2 separate regions of the Homo sapiens genome follow, and region 2 is linked to region 1. The links are contacts of gene promoters, found by promoter capture Hi-C in blood cells and fetal thymus (Javierre and others, 2016). All regions are on one chromosome and are shown on one strand. The core of a region is centred on a gene start or on the middle of the fragment in contact, and the rest is flanking DNA. Distances in the headings are between cores, read along the strand shown. Region 1 holds the start of OSBPL6 (oxysterol binding protein like 6). Region 2 overlaps OSBPL6 (oxysterol binding protein like 6).

The links. The method cuts DNA at HindIII sites, captures the fragments that hold promoters and counts their contacts. A CHiCAGO score of 5 or more calls a contact.
Region 2: a fragment that was not itself captured here is called in contact with the fragment with the promoter of OSBPL6 in region 1 in 2 of 17 cell types (megakaryocytes and erythroblasts); the score reaches 5.9 in megakaryocytes.

Annotation. Positions count from the first base shown.
Region 1 is chr2:178,192,928-178,196,949 of GRCh38, forward strand. It overlaps OSBPL6 (oxysterol binding protein like 6), which reads left to right and starts at 1,585. Exons shown (of 25, transcript NM_032523.4): 1 at 1,585-1,747. RefSeq lists silencers at 1,139-1,828, 2,275-2,569. The HindIII fragment of the contact is 4,321 bases long and covers 1-2,570 here.
Region 2 is chr2:178,394,080-178,398,088 of GRCh38, forward strand. OSBPL6 (oxysterol binding protein like 6) reads left to right here. Exons shown (of 25, transcript NM_032523.4): 24 at 234-356; 25 at 1,372-4,009. The coding sequence ends at 1,480. Among named protein-coding and RNA genes, the nearest start is that of CHROMR, 18 kb to the right of the region's middle. The HindIII fragment of the contact is 2,738 bases long and covers 734-3,471 here.

The DNA of each region.
Region 1 (4,022 bases), core at 335-2,834:
GGGTTTCACCATGTTGGTCAGGCTGGTCTCCAACTCCTGACCTCAAGTGATCCGCCCGCCTTGGCCTCCCAAAGTGCGGGAATTAAAGGCGTGAGCCACCGCGCCGGGCCTAGAGAACTTCTTTAGGTAAAGATTCTGTGTGCTGTGTGTACTCTCATTTCCGTTCACACTTTTGTATTTCTTTTTAAATACATGGGTTTTAGCTTTTTTTCTTTTAAGGGAGAAAGCCATTTCAGTAGAGTTTCTGTTAATGGAACTCAGAAGGAGTAAGTAGAAAGGGTGGCTGTGATGAAGCAGAGGTCAGCATCCCAGCTGCTCCCTTGAGGAGCCTGTCTTCACAGCAAAGGAATGAAGGACAAACTGCCATTGTCGCAGGGTCCCGCATCTATTATTTTGTGACCAGAGGACATGAGAACATTGCTAGTCTAGATGGAAAAAGCTAATCCAACAGGTGAGATTGGAGATTCAAGAGAAACTGCATGTGGGAAGGAGTGCATAAAGTCGACTATGTTTCATAGCAAATCATTTTGTCAGCACAGGGCACAATGAAATGCCATCACAGTTGCCTCATTAGTAAGCAATATCTTCCATTTTTGAAGGCACCCCAGCATGTTCTGTAATAGCTCCCATTAAGTCCAGTCGATGTCCTCTGGACTCCCCCTCCGCCTCCCACCCCCAGATGATGATGACACAAATGTCTTGAAATATTGACATGTCCGCAGTCACTCGTTTACAGAATGTCTGTACAAATATTTACATTACCCCGTCCCTCCCAGCAAATTTGCCTTTAGATTAATCTGCACACCGAACGCAGGCCGGGAGTGGCTTGGAGTGTGGAAGGGTTTAAGGGTGTGGAAGGGTTGTAGTGAGGCGGGACTGACTGACTTTGATCGGCTTTGCCAGGGGCTTGAAGGAACCGGCTCTTCCTTTCGCAGAACCCAGGTGTTTCTCTGGGCCCGGGAAGTTTTTGCTCCCGAGCGAGTCAGGGACGGGAGCAGGCACGCACAGTCGCGTAAGTGTATGAAATGACGACCTCAGAAGGGCGCCCAGGGACATGGGTTTGGCAGCCCCGAGCGGAGGCCGCCAGGCAGCCGTTCCTTTCGGAATTCGGTCTCCCGCAGTGCTCCCGGCTGCGGCGCTCCTGGGCCGAGCGCTGGAGCCGTTCTGGGCAACCCTCCCGAGCGCGGCCGGCTCACCTCCGCCGGACTGCGCGGGGCGAGGGCTCCGCTACTGCGCGCAGGCCCGCGGATGGCAACTCGGGGTTTCCACTGCGGGTGATCTCGGGACACCACGGGTTCCCACGGAGGCCGGGCCAGGGGAGAGCCCTGGCTGTGGGACCCCGCGTGACCAGGGCGCAGGGCGCCGGGTCCTTAGCCCATCTGGCGGCGCAGGGAGGGGCGCCCGGTAGGGCGGGTGCGCAGCATGAGCCCCAGCCGCTTGCCGCTCCACTCCAGCCGGGCGGACGGGCGGGAGCCGGGGGCGGGGAACCCGGAGCGCCGCCCCGCCAGCGCGCCCCGCCCGTGGGAGAGGAGGGGCTGCAGCGCAGCGGACCACTGGAGGCGCAGCACGGTCGCCGCCGCCGCTGTCGGTGCTGGAGATCGCGGCTCGGTGCAGGCGGCGCCCATGCCTCCTCTCCTCCACTAGCCCGCGCGCCAGTCCGCCTGCCGGGGCCGGCTCTCCGCCTCCTGCCTCCCGTCGCAGCCGCGCAGCCGCCGCAGAGTCCGCGGCGCCACCGCTCGCCCTCCAGGTAGGTGTCCTAGCTGCAAAGGGATTGCTTGGGGCGGGCGCCAAGGTGCCCGCATCGCGGCCCGGGGGCATTGTGCGCCTCCGGCGGGCCGAGGACCCCGAGGGACGCGTGGGTGGGCAGCCGCAGCTTCGGGTCCCCAGGACATCGCCGTCCCCCTGGAGGCGCCCCCGGCCGATAGCCCGGGCTACAGGGAAGTGGGGGCGGCGGTGTCAGCCCATTCTCGCGGCCGGGATGGGAGGGGGCGTCTGTATCGCGGTCCCGGTTTGCCGCCCTCCCTCCCCCTCGTTGCCAGGGAATTCCGGCCGCCTGCCACTAGCGCTCGCATTCCCTCGCGCGGGCCGGCGCCCCTGCTCCCCGCAGGCTGCCTGGGGATTGAAGCAGGGGCAGGGAGAAGGACTGATGTAATTGTCAGCGGAAAACCGAACCGGCGCGGGTGAGAGCGCCCGCGCCCGCGAGAGCTAACGCCTACGCCGCACCTTTCAGGGAATCGGGGAAGCCGAGAGGAGCGGCTGGGGAAGTTGTGCATTGGGTTTTATTGTGCGCGTGCACTGCGGACTGCCCTCGCGGGGCACCCCTGCCCACCCGCTGCTGGCGCCCCTGCAGCCCTCCCGGCAGCCTCCGTCCACTCCCCCGGCCAGGGCCAAGTCTGCCTTCCCTGGTTCAGACCGGGACAGCGTTTGCATTGCAGTCAAGACGTGCTTCCCCTGCATCAAGCCGGGAGCTGCCCGCAGATCGTGTCGCCGGGGATGCTGGGGGAGGAGGGAATGGGAGACCTGAGGAGAAAGCCTGGAGAAGTAATGACACAAGCGGATTTTCTCCCCAAAGCTTCTGCTGCGTATAGACACATCTGCAAGGCACCTTTTAAGCTGTTTTTGAAAGTTATAACCAGATACTGATTTTGTGACAATTCTATGATATACCTGAACGGTTGCTTAAACATAGAGACCTAAAGCTAGGGGAAGCATTACATAATGGACATGAAGCAAATGACACGAAACTAAGTGAACCCACTGGGTTGCCAGATTATTTCTCTCTTCTGGACACAAAATCCTGTAAGGTTTTTTCTATAGGAACTTTCATTTTTAAATTGCTGGGCTAAGTTTAGCCAATTGTCTATTATATTCAGTTGTGATTTTTTTTTTCTAAATAATTTTCTTGGACATCTTTTCTTAAATTTAAAAATTGCATACTAATGGTTACATATCACTAAGCTGATTAGGAAATGTAGTCTTCACAAGGTAAAAATAAGAAATTTCCCATCTTAATACATTAACTTTGTTTTCCTCTTGTTTTGTTTTTGTTTCTTTTCCTTCTTTCATCCTTCCCCCCGCCCCCAACCCCCGCTTTATTTTTTGGAAACATTTCTACAGTTTTGGGTACTGCAAGCTCACAACGTTGATATTTCTATCACATGCTACAGCATTGCGGAGACAAAGACTAATAATAAATGAAACAGAAGACCTCGCAGTAACTCTGAGAGTTAGCAGGGTTCCCAAGGTCGAAGGGAAGCTGCAGTGTAATTCAGCAATAATCACCTACAGAGAATATGCATAGCCCTCATTGGGAAAGGCCCTGATTGGTGGATTTTATTATTATTATTCTTTTGCAGTAGGAGTTCATATATTTTTTCCCTAAAAAATAATTTTTCTTAAGGTAAAAATGAAATATTTTGAAATTAAAATTTCAGGCTTTTAGAAAGCCTAAAAATTCTGGTTTTGCTCATATTTTTGGATGCAATGTTGATAACGCCATTATACATTCAGTGGATGGATTACCTTTGGCGGTACCTCAGTTTCAGATTACTATGACTTGTCAGGTGACTCTTGGCTTTAGTATGAGGTAGTTCTGCTGGACTTTTATAGGATCACATATGTAAGTTTTCTTATCCCTAGATTGCTATAACCTTAAGTTAACTTTATTTCAAGGAGAAAAATAAAGTCCTTCCAAGATGAAATCTTTGTGGTTGGAGGTCTTAGTACCACCACAGATACCGGATTAGGTAAACTGCATAAGGAGATAAAAATTCTTATGACTTTACTCATGAAACTGTTGGACTAGAGAGAAGATAATATAGTTTTGAAAGGTAAGGCATACATTCTCAAAAGAAGGATTTTGTTGTTTTGCTGCAAAGGTTAGGTCATAATTATGATACTTTTTAAAAAGTGGTTTTAAATCTTGGGGGAAAAAGGGTCTCATAGTATCCATTGACTTCTGGAACTTTTTTTTCCTCACTCAATATTATATCTCTGGATTCATTCATACTGTATGTAGTTGT
Region 2 (4,009 bases), core at 853-3,352, 200 kb after region 1:
ATTATAATAATTCAGTTCATGTACATAGAAAATATGTAAATCCTGGGAGGCAGAGGTTGCAGTGAGCTGAGATCACACCACTGCACTCCAGCCTGGCGACAGAGCAAGACTCCGTCCGTTACTGTGCGGTATTTTATGTTCATAGCAATTAGAAAACAATTTTGTGCAAATGAGGTTTTTTTTCCCCCAGAAAAGAGGATAATATGTTAAAATATCAACTGCTTTCTGCTTAGATTTTTGGAAGAAGGAAATTTAGAAGCTGCAGCATCAGAGAAGCAAAGAGTAGAGGAACTCCAGAGATCTCGGAGACGATATATGGAAGAAAACAATCTTGAACATATACCAAAATTTTTTAAGTAAGTCAGTTAACTCCCATAGCAAGTTCATGTTTTGCAAATGGTTGCCACAGGCCATGAGAAACTCCAGTTAAATGAAAATAAAATGGGTAAATGGATTTTGGTATCTTTGCTTTTGGCAGTGAAAATATTGAATCGATTTTGCACTTATGAAAAGTTAGTAACTATAAAAAGAAATTTTTTCTACAGCTCTTCTCTTTTCATGGGCAGCAGAAAAGAGTGAGCATCCTGCCCAGAAGGCTCTTTGTCCTTCAGCTGCACTCTTTAGAATGGTGGAAACTGGTTCCCACTCCCTTAGCCAGGGACTGAACCAGACCCCACTGCCCACAAGATCATCCTGGCTTTTATTAGGATTTCATTTTATTTCTATCACACAAAGCTTGTGTGTGTTTAGATTTGGTCTCTCTGTGGTATGATAGTAGGTGATTATTACAGGATTATTTGCAGGATTATATATACATCACACAGATTAATCTGAGGTTTCCAAATGCATCTGTTGCCCTCCAGAGCCAGGACAAAAAGCTCAGGGTAACCTTATCTCCTTTAGACTTGTCCTGTCATTACTGCCCTGGGGTAGAAATGCAGCCTTGCCCTTCAGATGTCTAAAATGTGCTCCTTGGACATGGGCCCAGTAGGGGCTCTTAGAGCTACTGATATTGCATACTTTTAGTGAAGGAGAAAGGATTCTTGTGGGTCTGGGACCTGAAGCTCTTAGTTACAGTATTTGTATATGCTTTATTGGGGGCTATTTACTTTTTACCCCTGCCAGGAGGTAATTTGTTCCTGCCCTGAGTTCCTCTCCCCCTGGCCCTACCTACTTCCATTTCACACATTTAACAACAAAAATGACTTCACTTCCAGTCAAAAATAGTCACATCATCAGTAGCTAGCAGATAAGATACTAACTGGCTTACAAACACTGCTTATATGTCCATGTCTAATCTATAGGAGAGGGTCCTATTTAAGGTTACCTTGATGTGATTCATGACTAATGTTGATGTTTATATTTTCACAGAAAAGTTATTGATGCCAATCAAAGAGAAGCCTGGGTTTCTAACGACACCTACTGGGAGCTTCGAAAGGACCCTGGGTTTAGCAAAGTAGACAGCCCTGTTCTTTGGTAGACTGGGAATGTAGAGCTAGCCAACATATCACATTCTGAATGAATAAATAACTATGCACAATTATGTTTCTTATAGCTATGTGTGGTTTCTGGGTCAACTGAAAACCTACCATTTGCTTTTCTATTCATCTTTATAATGGACTTTCAGAAGTGCATTAGACAAGGCCCCTAACCACTTTGGGATCCTTTCTGTTTTGCTGCAACCATATTCCTTAAAAAAAAAAAAAAAAAAAAAAAAAAAATCCACACCGTCCTTGGAAAGCAGAATAAAAGGAGCAGAATATAAAATCCAAAGTCTGACCAGTTTGTAAAGAAAAACAAATGGTAACTGGTGCTTAAAGCTGATCAAGAAAGTTAACAACAACATAGAAACCACACGATTGTTCCACTGTCTGGAAGCACCATCCCCTATCGCAGGACTCCTGGGCCACAAGCAGTCGGTCAGTGCAGACTTCAAGTGTGTCTGTTTGATGTGGTGTGATTGTGCTGGCCTTGTCGAAAAAGATGTGATGCTTCTCAGAACCTGTTCCATCTGTATGCCATTGTTCATGCCTTAAGAAATGCAAAGATGTACAATAAATCATTTTTAAAATGTGTGCTCATAGGTTTATGTGAAGAACAGATTTTTTGAATCATGGCATGATTCACTTTCTCAATCAGGACAATTATGAGACTAACTTAAATGGGTTTTTTAAAAGTGAACAACACGTGCTTTACTCTGATAAGTCAGTTACCATATGGTATGTCTGAAGGGAAAGAAGGAAAAGACGTGCTAAGTAGATCTCTGTATTTACGTGGCTCGTTAATTTCCTGTCCTGCGTCCAGATAATAAACCATCCCTCTTCCACCTAACCTCACAGTGTGCCCTATTATTTGGAAAAATCTGTCTTTGATTTGGACATTTGGTCATCAGTGTTAAAACCTTAAAAGGAAATAACAAAAAGCATATGGAATTCCTGTGTGGGCTTAGTAGTACTATAAATGTAATTGTTTTTGAGTGAAGCACCATGTAATCCATGTCTCAATCCCATGCCCGCTCCACTGACACTAGTCGAATTCCACTGAGAACAGAAGCAAGAATAATAGTAGTTTATTTGCATTGTTTAAATGAATTCTATGCAAAATCATATTTCAAATTTTCATCAAGTGATTCCATATGGTACATGGCTACATATTAAGCATTTACCTTGCTATTGGCAGAGATATGAAACTTAAGCTAAGGAATGTATCCATCCCAAAGCAGGAAAGCAGAAGTGTGTTTTGCATACTTCAGGATTTGTTTTTCCTCCACTAATATACAGAGGCTTTTGCAGAAAACTTGCATCAGTATTCCTGTTTCTGCACGTAGGTGACTATATAAATGCCTGTATGTTTTTTTTAAAATATCTCCTCAGAGATTTTCCTAGGGAATTATAAAATTACATATATTTTATTGTTAGTTAGATGTTTATTCTTGGATTCTTACCATTAGAATTTAAGTGTTATTTAAAACTCTGATACAGTTACAGACACTTTACATTTTATTATGAGGTGTTGATTTTAGTGGTATTTCTCCTCAGCAAAGCATTCCTAATAATGGCTAATACACCATCAAATGAAAAACTGCTGATGAGAGTGTAAGAGAAAGCGCTAACGTTTCCACTAGATGGCGCAATATTTTATTTATCCAAAACTCCTCCCTTGCATCTGAGTTTTTATGTTATGTGTACAGTCTGCATTAGCTTAGAATGGAATTTCATTCTCAGGTAAATTTTCGAATCCATCACCAGATCTAAGCATTCTGCTTCAACAATACCCTCTCTATTCCTCTCATTCCCATTTTAAATCCATAGGTGGCTTGCCCTGCGGCAGTAAAATCTTCCCCTTGATATTGATTCTTTTTCTGCTCATTCATCTTGATGTTCTTTTTCTGCATCCTGAGATACATGTCGTTAATTTTAATAAGAATCCTATTGACTTCCTCACGGGAGTCTGTTCTCCTATGGTTGATAAAGCTTTAAATACTATTTAAAGTGGTTCTGGTCTGTACTTACTAGCACTTCCCTGAACAGTCTCAAAATAGCCTAAACATAAGAAAACAATCCTGCAAAGTAAAGGTTTTTACAAGCAGAGATGAAGGAAAGGGAGCAGCAGCTGACCATCAGATGTGGTATCAGGTAGCTGGAAGAGGATCCAGGACCCATCAGGGAAGCAACGACTGTACTTAGCAATTTGGGTTATAATTACAAAAAAGAAAAAATAGTAGAAAGGATCTTTACCAGACAGTAAGGTCATGGTACAAATCAGGTGAGTGAATGTTGGTCAGAGGTAGCCTGACACTCTGATGAGGACTTCAAGATGAGAATGAGAAAAATGTCTATTAAAATCACTACATTTGATAATATCTCAGATTTAGAATCTCTTTTGGGATTCAGATAGTCTGATTATTCCAATTCAAGTGTTCAGTTAAGTTTTAGTTACTATTCCTATAATACCCAATTCACTAATATCATATCTCCTGTGGAATATTCATTGGTGCGATGGCCTCATC